Linked DNA regions of Homo sapiens: all the other regions are linked to region 2. The links are contacts of gene promoters, found by promoter capture Hi-C in blood cells and fetal thymus (Javierre and others, 2016). All regions are on one chromosome and are shown on one strand. The core of a region is centred on a gene start or on the middle of the fragment in contact, and the rest is flanking DNA. Distances in the headings are between cores, read along the strand shown.

Region 1 (2,760 bases), core at 124-2,623, 1.7 Mb before region 2:
CCATTTCTCCCCGCCCCGCCATCATCCAGCTTCTTCTTGTCATTCCATTTCTGGGAAAGTTGCTGGCAGAAGCTTCCCTTGAGTTGAGCAAACCTATCTAGAGCACTTGCTGTGTGTTGGGCTCTGAAGGGGGGTGTACGGAGATGGAAAAATTTGTCTGTCTTGTCTTGCTCTACACCTCGATAAGTTTTTTTTCACGGAAGCTTTGCTTATATTCACCCCTCCCTGTTGGCTGACTTTCCTTTTAAGCCCTTGCCCCGCCTCCGTGTTGCAGTATTGCTTGTGTGGAAGTTTTCTTCTGTTCCGCGAAGATACGTGCTTCAGTCTGTTCTGCCACTGTTCTTCGGCTGTGTGGAAGTTTTTAAGGTCACACTTCTCTTCTGCTTGTAGCTTTCATTGTTAAGAGCGTGGTGGAGTTAAATCAGGTTCCCGGTTGATTTTGGCGTTTCAGGAATCCGTGCTTACCAAGTGTAAATTGCATTGCTACTTGTTGAGGTAAAAACTAAAAATACAGTTGGAGTGTAGAGGGAGCAGTTTCGGTTATCCTGGTGACAGGTGGGATTTTTAGAACAGCAACTTTACTAAAACATACTGGGTTTTTAAAAATTCTGTACTTAGTTTTATAGGTGTACTCTAAGGAAATGCAACTTATGGGTGTTCAATTTTATATGAGTAAGGAGTGTGTGTTTACCTGAGTGATCCTCCTGTATCTTAGGATTGTTTTAGGCATTAAATTTCCTTAGTGAACTGAAACTATTTTGATTTATACCCATCTCTTAACACACATGCGGCAAAGTGGCCTCCTTGTTTTTGACATTTTCCTAGAATTTTCTGACAGTCTTACCATTGTTTGTAATTTAAAATGTTTGTTTGAATTTTTTTTTTTTTTTGAGACAGTCTCACGCTGTCGCCCAGGCTGGAGTGCAGTGGCGCGATTTCGGCTCATTTCAACCTCTGCCACCCTGGTTCAAAAGATTCTCCCGTCTCAGCCTCCCGAGTAGCTGGGATTACAGACGCCCGCCACCGCGCCGTGTTAATTTTTGTAGTTTTCGTAGAGACGGGGTTTTGCCATGTTGGCCAGACTGGTCTCGAACTCCTAACCTCGTGATCCACCCTCCTAGGCCTCCATAAGCAGGTTAGGCGCGGTGGCTCACGCCTGTAATCCCAGAACTTTTGGGAGGCCGAGGCGGGTGGATCACGAGGTCAGGAGATGGAGACTATCTCTTGAGCCTGGTGTGGTGGCGGGCGCCTGCAGTCCCAGCTACTCCCGAGGCTGAGACAGGAGAATCGCTTGAACCCGGGAGGTGGAGGTTGCCTGGGCGACAGAGAGAGACTCTCTCCAAAAAAACAAAACAAAAAAAACACATAAGCAAACAACTATACAAGCAGTATAAAGCATGTCTAATACTGCCATATCACAATGGCATATTTCAATAGGGAAATGGTATTTTAAATACCATTTTTTAAAAACCTTTTATTCTGGAAAACATGCGAAACTCGAATAGTATGGAGAACCCCATGTGTTAGTCACTCACTTAGCTTTGACAATTATTAACTCATAGCCAAGGTCGGTTTTGTTTCATGTTGTATCCCCCCACACAAACTAGATTATTTTGAAACAAATCTTAAACATTGTGTCACAACATTAGCGATTTTGACTTTTACCAGATTGCCCCAGATTAAGGTCACAAAATTTACTTTTAGTAGAATAATAGTTCTCATTTTTGTTTGTTGGGCTTCCCTTCTCTGTTTATACATGATTTCTGTACAGCAGAAAAGAAGAAGAAAATTAACTCTTGATCCAATGCCTTCAGCTCCTCAAAATCAAAATACAACCTTGCTGCTTTATTGTGTACAAAAGCAAAAATTCTTGAGCTATTAATGACTATAATTGAAAAGCGAACAAATACAGATTTCCCCAGTCCTGTTTTGGCAGAGACCTGCCTTTTAACCCACTTTAATAGAGATAACTTTGTGTCAAAGTTAAACTACAGTTAATAATTCATAATGAAAACTTAAAATGTTTCTTTACAGTAGTTGTGTAAAGATACTGCTGTTACCTTAGGTTAAGAATTAAGCAAAAGATAATCTTCTAACATAGAATTGTTTTCCAAAGTGCCCCCGTCTGCCCTATTTCCAAATAACAAATTTAGCAAATATGAATGAAACCTTAATTTTTGTGAATAGTATGAAATCACAGCATAAGTGTTCACGTTTTTCTTTCTTGTGTCTAAAGGATCTCTCTTACAATGGAAGTTGACAGGAATATTATAAATATTATAAATGTCTTTGTTGCATAACTTTCAAATTTCTGGTCGTGAATAGTTTTCAGCTTTTAGGTCTGTTATTTGAGTTTTGTAGGTGTACTTTGAGCTTGATCAGGTACAGTGGAAATGTTACATGTTATGTTTTAGTTATGACTACCTGGAAGATGGGGAAAGATACACCTCTTAAAATTGATTTAGGAAAGAAACGCCAATTTAGTATCTGGGAAAGGACACAACACATTTTTAAAAATGTGTAGTGCTTCCCATTAAGCTTAACGTAAAACTTTTAAGCATTGAGAATTGTTACCATAAATATAGTTTCTTGAGAATAAGTTGCTCTCTTTTAGGTTTCAGCCAGAAAGTCCATGTATATACAGATTACAGCAGGTCCTTGAATAATGTTGTTTCAAGATAATGTTGAGAAAAAAAACTGTCTGTGGAGTTTACACGTTCTCCCTATCCCTGCATGGGTTTTCTCTGGGTACTCTTGATT
Region 2 (2,700 bases), core at 175-2,674:
ACATTTTCGTTTGTGCAGCATTCGCTGAAGACCTAAGATTTTTATTCCTCCAATCACCTTCTCAACAACCTGCTGCAACAAATACTGAAGCTTTTTTGCAGCCAGGGATCAGTTAGGTGGATCCGAGGCCAGGCATTTAAATCAAAGAGATGCAGCAATCTTACTCAATACTACTACCACTCTCACGCATCTCATTCAACTCCATTTAAAACCACTGCAGCAAGACAGCTGGTACTCTCCTTCCTGTTTCTTTACCGTACAGGCTTAATAACAAAAACAGGTTGGTTTTGAAGCCCTGCTCAAATATTGCAAAAAGGAAGTCTTCGCATTCGGGAGGGGGAAAAAAGTTTCGACTTCGAGAGAATCTCATAGCTTCCGTGTCATTCCATTTGGGAATCCCAGATCCTGCCAGTGAGGTAGATGCTCGCTCTCTCGGTTAACTTTTCCACCCTAGATGCCCTCAAACTGCCTAGGAAGCAACTAAGTCTCCCAACGACCCATGGCTAGTTTTGTTAAGGCAGGTACAAGACAAGCAGTTTATTTAAACCATGACGAACTGGGTCGATGTTCATAAAATGAGAGATGGGGAGAGCAAAAAAAAAAAAAAAGTAGTAATAAAGACAGCCAAACTCCTAATTTTATCAACCAACTTCCCACTTGCCATTTCCCAGCCTTCACACCAGAGGTAGTAAAACGCCTTTTTACCGAGAAAACTAAGAAGCTACCCGAGCCCAACATGAAAATTCCGCGGACAATTCGTGTTAAAATATTTTTTAAATGCCCAAGTGAGGAGGAAACACAGCAACCAAATCTCACCCGGCTGGGAGGCTGGGGTGGGGGGGGTCCCCGCGGCTTTTCCCTCCCGTGCGTCCCAGAAGCTGCTAAGGAGCCGGGGCAGCAGGAGGACGACGCGGGGAGCTTTCAAAAGGGCTGGGGGAGGCAAGAGGAAGAAAAAACTTTAGGGACAGAAGGGGAAAGTGGGCCCCTGCAGTCCCCCCGCAAACTCCTCGGGTGACCCCTCCGCGCGGGGACCCCCTCGGATCCCCAAGCGGACTGCCACCCAGCTTCGTCTCAGCTCCTACCGCCGCGGGCCGCCCCCCGGGCTGAGGGGAAGCGGCGCGGCCCCGACACCCCGAAACTACCTCAGCGCGTCCCCCGGCCGGCGCGCCCCTCAGTGCCTTGGCAGATCTGAAGCCGCTGGCTCTCGCAGCCTGGGGAACTCGCCCCTCTTCCCTCCGCCTCGCACTCCACCCCCTCGCCCGCCACCGCCTCCTCCTTTATCTCCACTCACCTCCCGCCGCCATTTTCCTCGCAGCTCAGCTTTAAATCGGAAACTCGCCGCTCAGCCCGCAGCCGCCGCCGGCCGCCACCGACTAAGCCGCAGCCGCTGCCGTCGCTGTGGAGCGGCTGAGACAGCAGCAGCTAAAGTCGCCGCACGGGGGCCACTGGGATATGTAGTCCCGAGGCCACGCCCAGCACTACCGGTCCCAGGGGGCCTTGCGCGGCCGGCCTAGGGTTCCAGCGACCCCCACCCTGGCTTCCGCGGCGGAGGGCGTGGCGACGTGGGCTCGTGCGGCCGCTTTCGCCCAGCATCGACTGGGAGCTCCCTCGGGATCCGGAGAACCGGAATGCAGTCCTAGCCCTGCCCTTAATTTTTTTCATATTTGCCTTCGTCCAGTAATACCTAACATTTGTGGAGCGTTTCTGGTATGCCAAGCACGGATCCTCAAAACAAGCATCCGGTAGGGACCATGATCATCCTCATTTTTCAGATGAGCGAACTGAGGCACAAGGTCGGAAGCCACGAGGCTGTTCCTTAGCTGCTAAAGTCACTGGGTGAAATGTTGTTGGGCAGCAGTATATTCAGGGTATATTTAGTCCCGAAGTATCATCCCACAGCGTATTTATGACTTACAATAAAGAACAGCTTGCTTTACAATGGAAAGATCTGGCAGGCACCCCCTTACCAAGTGATCGAACTTAGCACCACCAATAATGGGTCAGGACTGTTGTTATGTGTCTCCTAATATGATGCAGTGGGGAAAGCATATTGCTACCTCTGTCGTATTCTTGCCACATACACACAAAAAGCTTACTTGAAAAAATAAACGAATTCAGAATGTGGGACATTCTACACAACATCTAGCCTGGAGTCTTTTAAAATATGACAGCATGAAAGAGGTGAAAACCAAAAGCAATAGGTGAGACTTGATTGGATTCAGGATGATTTTTTTATGTAAAAAGAATTTGGGGGGCAATTTCAATGTGGACTGTATGTTAGATAATATTGAGTCAGTATTAGATGTGTTGAGTGTAAATAAAATAGAATAATCTGACCACTTACCACCTCCACGGTCAGCACCATCATTTCCCACCTGGACCACTGCAACAGCCTCCTCAGTGTTCTGCCTGCTTCCACTCTTTCCTCTTAGAGTCTATACTCAACACAGCAGCCAGAGGAATCCTGGTAAGAACCAAGTCAGTCTCTGTCCCTCCTGCAAAATTCTTGCAGTAACCTGCAAAGCCCCATACAGCCCGTCTCTTGCCCTGCCCTTCCCTCTCTAAACTCATCACCTTCTTCTCTTCCACTCACTTCTGTAACTCAGCTACAATGGACTCGGCCTCTCCAACGTGCTTAGCACACTCTGGCCTTAAAGATCGTGCACTTGCTATTTCCTCTGCCTAGAACAGTATTTTCCC
Region 3 (2,725 bases), core at 69-2,568, 1.3 Mb before region 2:
GCTTCACTCAGTCACTTTCCTTGCATGGCTTCTGTTGGCATTGGTGTTTGTAGCCCCTGGTGTAGACGTCTTGGGCACCTCTGGCTGTGGGATCTGAAATACTGATAATCCCGATAATGATGCTGCTGCTGCTGATGATGATGATAGCAACCCCACTTCCAGTCAGAGCTGTGTTTTTGGCATTGTTCTTAGTTCTTGATCCACAGCCTCTCCGCAGGTCTTTGTCACTACAGAGTACTGCTGTCGTTATGCCCATTTTACAGATGTGGATGCAGAGTCTCAGAGAGGTACAGCTGCCGGCCCCAAGCCATACAGCTTGGCTTTGCCGTGACCCTTCAGGCCTTGGTCTTTATATCAGAGTCCATTATGTGTGGTTGTGGCTACCTTGAGACTGTTAACCTCTTGAGGGCAACAGCATTTCAGGTTCTTACCTCCCTGCCTGACTCTAGCTGTCAAGTTTTGTTCTCAGATATTTGTGATGTGATGTTAGGGAGCCTTGGATTCCGCCGGAGGCCCTGTCTGTAGGCACTTCTGGGTGGTAGGCATGGGATCAGCATCAACCGTAATGGTCAGTTCTGAAGGTTGCTGGGGTTGAACAGCCTTCCGTTCACTGTCTGGGTTTGGGATTCCAGCGAAAGCCTTCATACCCTCAAGAGAATGGTGGTGTGTGGCCGGGGGCTCCTGGGCCTCATGCTGGAGGCTGGAGAGTTAGAGAATTGGGGCATGACCAGCTCATGTTGTTCAGACCTGGTCTGGTGTTTGTGCCTCGTGTGGTGTGGCGGGTTTTGGCATCAGAAAGCCTGTATTTAGGCTGTACTTCCCCCTTCCCAGTGTGCCTTTGTGGGCCACTTACCTCACTTCCCCGTTGCTCATAAACGTTAGCTCACTTCCCAGTTGCTAAATAGTTGCCAATAAACAACAGCAACTATTATTATTCATATTGATGAGTGGAATTACTTGTTGACTGGACCAAGGGGCGGGAGAAACCCCTCGGACCTTTCGCACATCGCAGGGTGTTGGAGTGGTTATGGGCCTGGAGTGGAGGTCAGTCTCTGGCTCTGCCACTCGCTGTGTGTGATGCTTTACCTGTGAGTGTGCCTCAGTTTTCTCATCTGTAAAATGGGATTAACAGTACTACCACTGACTCTTAGGAGAAATACGTAGCACAGAGCCTGGCACAGGGTAGCTGCTTCCTGAATGCCTGCTGTTCTGATTTTTTGTGTTAATGCTGAATCTTCACGTGTGCCCGCATAGTAGGCATTGGTCTCCCTTCCAGAGAGGAGACTGAGTGGCCATGGGAGCAAATACCTCAGTGACTGGACACTAAGTAGTTTCCAGGCAGAGAGCAAAGTAGAGGCCTCCAGCCCTACAAGCAGTGTTCTGGAATTCAGGGGCCTGCTGGGTTTTCCGAGGGCCTGTGAGTCATGTGCTTTAGAAAGGAGCCTGAGAAACTCTGTCCCCAGCCCCGCCCCGTGGACTCCCCCTCTGAAGTGATGCCTGGCTTCCAGGCTCCAGCGGCTGGTTGCCAAGGAGTCCAGCTGCCATCCCCTCCCACAGCTGCTAAGCAGGCATCTGGTTGCCAGGTGCCACCTCCTTGGACATCTTGGCTCTCAGAGCGCCTGTCTCGGCTGTCTGAGGGGGGCGGGGTCCATGGGGGACATTGGACTTTAGAACCTGGGAGGCTGTTGGGGTGTAGGGGCCAGAGCAGCCCTGAGGTTGTGGTCCAGGATGACCCGGACTCTAGCTTCACTCTTTTAGCCTCATTCCTCATTAGATGCCCCTGCAGGAGGCTGGGCAGGACTTGTGTCCCCATTTTACAGAGGGGGAAAATAAGCCTCAGGGGGTGAGGGGAGTCTCCAGCTGGGCCTTGGGGTCCTCTACCGTCCAGGGGAAAGGTCACTGTGCTCACCTCCATTGGTGAGGATGTGATGCTTGTCTCTTCCCCCTGCTTGTTAGATGTGAGAGCCCTCCTTCCTCAGGGCCTTGCCTGCTGAGCTTACAACAGAACCCTGTCTCCTTAGCTGCACCTCTGGCCCCCACCTACCTTCTTGCCCAGATTTCCAAAACCGCCTGTATTAGTCCATTTTCATACTGCTGATAAAGACATACCCGACACTGGGCAATTTACAAAAGCAAGAGGTTTAATGGACTTACAGTTCCACACACCTGGAGAGGCCTTAAAATCGTGGTGGAAGGCAAGGAGGAGCAAGTCACATTTTACATGGATGGCGGCAGGCAAAGAGAGAGCTTGTGCAGGGAAACCGCACCTTATAAAGCCATCTGATCTCTTGAGACTTATTCACTATCACGAGAACAGCACGGGAAAGACCTGCCCCCATTTAATTACCTCCCATTGCATCCCTCCCATAACATGTGGGAACTCAAGATGAGATTTGGGTGGGGACACAGCCAAACCATATCACCCCCTGCCTGAGTCCCCTTTCCCAGTCCTTACTCTCACCTGTTCACTCTGCTCCAGCCATTGTGGTCTCCTTGTTGTCCCTGTGCACCAAGCAGGCCCCTGCTGCCCCACTGCCCATGGTGTGCTCTCCCTTGGTAACCCATGGCTTACCTCCTTACCTCATCTGGGTCTCAGCTGGACGTGTTCTTATCAGGGAGGCTTTTCCTGGCCACCACATTTAAAAAAGCACCCGTCTCCTTGCTTTATCTCTCCCTTTCCTGCTTGATTTCTTCGTAAGGCTTCGCAGTCTATTCTGGTGAATCT
Region 4 (2,700 bases), core at 7-2,506, 1.8 Mb before region 2:
AAAATACATTCATCCTCATGTATGGGCAGGAAAAAGAAATCAGGGAGGCTGGGCTTGCTGGCTCACACTTGAAATACCAGCACTTTGGGAGGCCAAGGTGGGTGGATCACGAGGTCAGGAGTTTGAGACCAGCCTGGCCAACATGGTGAAACCCCATCTCTACTAAAAATACAAAAATTAGCTGGGTGCAGTGGCAGGCGCCTGTAATCCCAGCTACTCAGGAGGCCGAGGCAGGAGAATTGTTTGAACCCAGGAGGCAAAGGTTGCAGTGGCTTAAGATCACACCATTGCACTCCAGCTTGGGTGACAGAGACTCCAACTCAAAAAAAAAAAAGAAAGAAAAAAAGAAACTTCAAGTCACTCCAATCCATACAAAGTTAAAGACCCCAGGGGAAATAGTAAGAAAAAGGTAATATCCCATTCCCCTAGAGGGCAGAATAGAATTAAAGCCTGTAGTTGAAGTTCTCATTCAGGACTGATTCCCTGAACCCTGTATGTCCCCCTATTAACACCCCAGTATTACCTGTAAAGAAATCAGACAGGTCTCATCAACTAGTACAAGATCTCCAGGCTATCAACCAAATAGTCCAGACTACCCACCCTGTTGTCCCCAATCCTTTTACCATCCTCAGCAGAATTCCATGACAATCAATGGTTCAGAGTAACAGATTTAAAAGATGCCTTCTGGGCATGTCCCTTGGCTGAAGACAAGAGAAGTATTTGCTTTTGAGTGGGAAAACCCTCATTCTGGATGGAAGCAGCAGTACCAATGGAGAGTCCTACCCCAAGGGTTTACAGATTCACCTAATTCAGTCAGGACTGCCTCTCAGAAAGATACTGGCCTATCTCTCTGTTATGTGGACTGCCTTATTTACACTCTTACTACTGACATTCCTACCTTTGAAACAAAGGATCAAATTATATACTTGGCTTTCCACTTTCTCTTACCTCAGAACTAAAGGTATTTTAGCACAGATGCCACCCTTACAGTTCCTGGTACATCAATACCAGCCTGGAGATCACATCCTTATCAAAAGCTGGAAGGAGCCAGCTTGGGAAGGACCATACCTAGCACTCCTAACTGAAACAGCAGCCCGAACAGCCGAAAAGGGGTGGACCCATCATACCCCAGTCAAAACAGCATCACCATCTTCAGAGTCATGGGCTATTGTTCCAGGGCCAATTTCTACCAACCTAAAGCTACGAAAACTTTAACCCTCTTATACTGCCTTGTCTTCTTTCCTCTCTCTACCGTCAGCTATTTTATCATTAATGTAACTAGATCAAGCTCACCTCAATCACATTTGATGCCTGTCTTGTCATATCCTGTGGGGATCTCCAAAACCAGAGGCAACTGGCCTTCTCAGAAAAATATCTCTGCCCTTCCAAGATAAATTCTAAATCCTCACACAATGCTTGCCTAATCGAAACTAAATCCATTACATTCTTTGCAGTTTGGGAATGGGAAGGGTTTGAGGAGAGGTTCTGCCCATCCCGGAATGACGTCCTATGGAATACCGATCCTCAAGGGTAGACTTCCCCAAAAAGCTGCATCTCTCTACAACCCTACCTTCGTTTCAAAGGGAAGGCCCCCTCTAATTGCCAATATCACCAATGTAACCCAGTGCAAATTTCTATTCTTACCTCTACCTCCACCAATCCTAATCCCACTTTAAGTAGCTTCTACAGCATGGGAGCCGCAACATTAGGGATAGACCCTACAGGATCTTTCGAAATGCGCTTCATTGTTCCCCCACCCCCTTCATCCCCTTCTAAACAAACACCCAATGACAAAACCAAAGTGACCATTGTAGAGGTTAAAGATCTAAAGCAAACTCTACCAATTGAAACGGTACCGAGATGCAAATGCATGGCTGGAATGGATTAAACATTCTGTCCGCTCGCTAAACAAAGCGATTGTTATGCTTACGCACGTGGTAAGCCAGAGCCCCAGATTGTTCCCTTTCCACTCGGATCGTCCTCCAGCCGATCAGGCATTAAGTTGTATGGCAGCTCTCTTCCAAGACCCCACAACCTGGGGCAATAAGCTATGCCAAACTCTCTCGCTGCTGTTTCCTGAAGTCCCCTGAAGTCCGACACCCTGCGGGTCAGCCCCCGAGGGCCATCAAGCATCCGTCTTCCAATGCCAATTTTACCTCGTGTCTCTCACAGGGGGAGAACTTGAATTTGCTTGGAGACCTAACGAGATGCAGTGAGCTTAAGCCCTTCCAGGAGCTTACCAATCAGTCGTCCCTTATTCATCCCCAAGCAAACGTATGGTGGTGTTGTGGTGGACCATTACTGAATACTCTGCCAAGTTACTTGGCGTGGCACTTGAGCTCTAATCCAATTGGCTATCTCCCTTTCACCCTGGTATTTCATCCAGAAAACATACATAAAAACAGAACATCATAAAACAATGGATGTCCCTCGTGACTCTCATGTTTATATAGATGCCATTGGAATCCCACGAGGAGTGCCAGATAGATTTAAGGCCCAAAATCAAATAGCTGCAAGTTTGAATCCATGTTGTTCTGGTGGTCAACTCTAAATAAAAATGTAGATTGGGCCGGGAGTGGTGGCACACGCCTGTAATCCCAGCATGTTAGGAGGCTGAGGCGGGTGGATCACAAGATCAGGAGTTTGAGACCAGCCTGACCAACATGGTGACAGCCCCCAGCTACTCAGGAGGCTGAAGGA
Region 5 (2,700 bases), core at 106-2,605, 1.5 Mb before region 2:
CTGTAATCCCAGCACTTTGGGAGGCCGAAGCAGGCGGATCATCTGAGGTCAGGAGTTCGAGACCAGCCTGACCAATGTGATGAAACCCCGTCTCTACTAAAAATACAAAAAAAAAAAAATTAGCCGGGCGTGGTGGCATGCGCCTGTAATCCCAGCTACTCAGGAGGCTGAGACAGGAGAATTGCTTGAACCCGGGAGGCAGAGGTTTCAATGAGCCAAGACTGCACCATTGCACTCTAGCTCTAGCCTGGGCAACAAAAGTGAAACTCCCATCTCAAAAAAAAAAAAAAAAAAAAAAAAAAATTAGCTGGGCTTGGTGATACCCTCCTGTGGTCCTAGCTACTAGGGAAGTTGAGGCAGGAGGATTGCTTGAGCCCGGGAGGTCTAGGCTGCAATAAGCTGAGGTCTTGCCACTGCAGTCCAGTATGGGTGACTGAGTGAAACCCTGTCTCCAAAAATAAAATAAAATAAAATAAAATAAAATAAAAATAAATAAATAAAACCACATAATAGAATGAAACCTAAAATGATTAAGTTGAGATGCTAGGGTAGGACTATTTTTAAGTTTAAAAAAAAGTGAGGGGTTATATAAATATGCATGTTATAATCCCTCAAAGTTAAAATACTACATAGATCCCAGAATCTTAATACTCTTTTTTGAGACAGGGTCTGGGTCTGTTACCTAGGCTGGAGAAATGCAGTGGTGTAATTCTGGCCCACTGAAACCTCTGCCTCCTGGGCTCAAGCCATCCTCCTACTTCAACCTCCCAAGTAGCTGGGACTACAGGCACACACCACCACACCTGGCTAATTTTTGTGTTGTTTCTGTAGACATGGTTCCAGTGTTGCCCAGGCTGGTCTGGAACTCCTGAGCTCAAGTGATCCGCCCACCTTGGCCTTCCAAAGTTTATTCTTTGGGAATATTCTTTAAGGAACTATTTGTCAACAAATCCTTTTTATATCGCCTTGCAGATATAGTCTATAAAACCGAATTCTAAGCTTATCCTTAATTTGAGAAAATAAGAGAAATCAGGGACTTTTAGAGAACATTTTACAGGTATTCATAATTATCAACAAGATCAAGCTCTAATTATCTTATGCAACCACAAGTAAAGGTACTTTGACACTCTGAAATATTAGCAATATATAAATGCAAAAAGTGTTACTGATCTAAAAATGACTCAAACTAGAAACAAAACATTCATTTTGGCCAAGTAGGGTGGCTCATGCCTGTAATCCCAGCTCTTTGGGGGGCCAAGGTAAGCAGATTGGTTGAGTCCAGGAGTTTGAGACCAACCTGGGCAACATGGTGCCATCTCTACAAAAAAAAAATAAAAATTAGTTGAGTGTGGTGGTGCACGCCTGTAGTCCTAGCTACTCGGGAGGCTGAGGTAGGAGGATAGACTGAGCCCAGGTCAGCCCAGGCAACACAGTGAGATGGTGTCTCCAAAAAAAAAAGGGAGGGAGAAGATAAGAATTCATTTTTATCACCTTTAAATGAGGGGGTGATACTTTTCTTTCTCCACGTAACTATCTTTGGAAATCTCTACCAATACACAATTAAGAAACTTAAAAAAGCATCACAATAAATCAGTTATGGCAGACATCTAAATTTCCAAGTTCTTCTTGTTGAATGAATGGCCAGACCTAAGTCTAGCATCTTCCCACAGGCCCTCAATTACAGGTGGAGATTTCTGGAATAAAAGCTTTGTTTTCCAAAGCCATCTCACAGACATCTGTGACATAAGCTGATCCAAGATGTCTGCCTTTTTCTTAGATATGTCCTCAACACATTAGAGAACCATTCCCGAGGCCTTACATTTGGGAAGAGGGAAAGAGATCCAATGAATGAAAACTATCTGGCACCCACACATGAAGAACATATCCCAACACCTCAACCTACCCTCTGCTTTCTAACCATAGGAATATACCACTTAGAATCAAATCCAAACTCCTTACATTGCCTACAAAGCCTTCTATGATCCGGGTCCTGGATATTTCTCCCTTCTTCATGTAACACTCTAGGAACCTAAGATATTCCTTAAATATTTCAATATTCCAAGCCGGTTCCTGTCCTTGAGCCTTGAGCCTTCTATTCCCTCTACCTGGAATGTTCTGCCCCTCACCTTTTAATGGCTGGTCTCTACCCAAATGTCACCTCCTCAGAAAAGCCTTCTTCACCTGTCACATAATTCTGTCACTATCTGAAATTATCTAATGTTTTTTCTTTCGCCCACGAGAATACATGGTCCTCAAGGGAAGGGACCTTGTCCATTTTTGTTTTTTCACTATATTCCCAGAGATTAAGTGGATGCTCAATAAAGTTATTAAATGAATAAAGAAACAAATTAATTCCAAAACTAGAGCACTGCTCTTGCATCCATCCAATCCTGTCCCAGACCCCAACCAGCAGAAGTAATCAGAAGGGGAGAGAGACTTCCCTTGCACTGATGGTAAGAAGTGAAAGATAAAGGGTTGTAGGAGCGGAGAGACGAGGTCCATTAGGATCCTCTGAAAGCATGTCAAAAAAAAAAAAAAAAAAGAGAGAGACACACACAGAGAAAGGCCAAAGATATGACTATGTGGGCCCAAGGTGAGAAAAAGAGCAATTGGTGGAATCCAAGACTAAAGGGTCCCCTTCTGTGCCTCCAAGGAAGAATAATACTTGTGCATCTACCATGTGGCAAGCACAGGTGGGAT

Evidence for each region. Contacts are between HindIII fragments. The CHiCAGO score rates a contact against its expected background, and 5 or more counts as called.
Region 1: a fragment that was not itself captured here is called in contact with the fragment with the promoter of NCOA3 in region 2 in 1 of 17 cell types (fetal thymus); the score reaches 9.4 in fetal thymus.
Region 3: a fragment that was not itself captured here is called in contact with the fragment with the promoter of NCOA3 in region 2 in 1 of 17 cell types (naive CD8 T cells); the score reaches 5.4 in naive CD8 T cells.
Region 4: a fragment that was not itself captured here is called in contact with the fragment with the promoter of NCOA3 in region 2 in 1 of 17 cell types (non-activated CD4 T cells); the score reaches 5.1 in non-activated CD4 T cells.
Region 5: a contact is called between a fragment that was not itself captured here and the fragment with the promoter of NCOA3 in region 2, in 1 of 17 cell types (fetal thymus). The highest score is 10.0, in fetal thymus.

Annotation. Positions count from the first base shown.
Region 1 is chr20:49,184,474-49,187,233 of GRCh38, reverse strand. All of the region lies in intron 1 of STAU1 (staufen double-stranded RNA binding protein 1), which reads left to right. Among named protein-coding and RNA genes, the nearest start is that of STAU1, 2.5 kb to the left of the region's middle. RefSeq lists an enhancer at 87-156. The HindIII fragment of the contact is 2,335 bases long and covers 206-2,540 here.
Region 2 is chr20:47,500,611-47,503,310 of GRCh38, reverse strand. NCOA3 (nuclear receptor coactivator 3) reads right to left here and starts at 1,424. Exons shown (of 23, transcript NM_181659.3): 1 at 1,292-1,424. RefSeq lists a silencer at 1,065-1,184 and a cis regulatory region at 2,436-2,508. The HindIII fragment of the contact is 2,001 bases long and covers 93-2,093 here.
Region 3 is chr20:48,775,262-48,777,986 of GRCh38, reverse strand. The region is part of intron 1 of PREX1 (phosphatidylinositol-3,4,5-trisphosphate dependent Rac exchange factor 1); the gene reads left to right. Among named protein-coding and RNA genes, the nearest start is that of PREX1, 51 kb to the left of the region's middle. The HindIII fragment of the contact is 6,678 bases long and covers 1-2,725 here.
Region 4 is chr20:49,282,238-49,284,937 of GRCh38, reverse strand. All of the region lies in intron 3 of ZFAS1 (ZNFX1 antisense RNA 1), which reads right to left. Among named protein-coding and RNA genes, the nearest start is that of SNORD12, 2.9 kb to the right of the region's middle. RefSeq lists an enhancer at 499-1,431. The HindIII fragment of the contact is 3,903 bases long and covers 1-2,700 here.
Region 5 is chr20:49,047,989-49,050,688 of GRCh38, reverse strand. The region is part of intron 1 of CSE1L (chromosome segregation 1 like); the gene reads right to left. Among named protein-coding and RNA genes, the nearest start is that of CSE1L, 3.0 kb to the right of the region's middle. The HindIII fragment of the contact is 707 bases long and covers 1,002-1,708 here.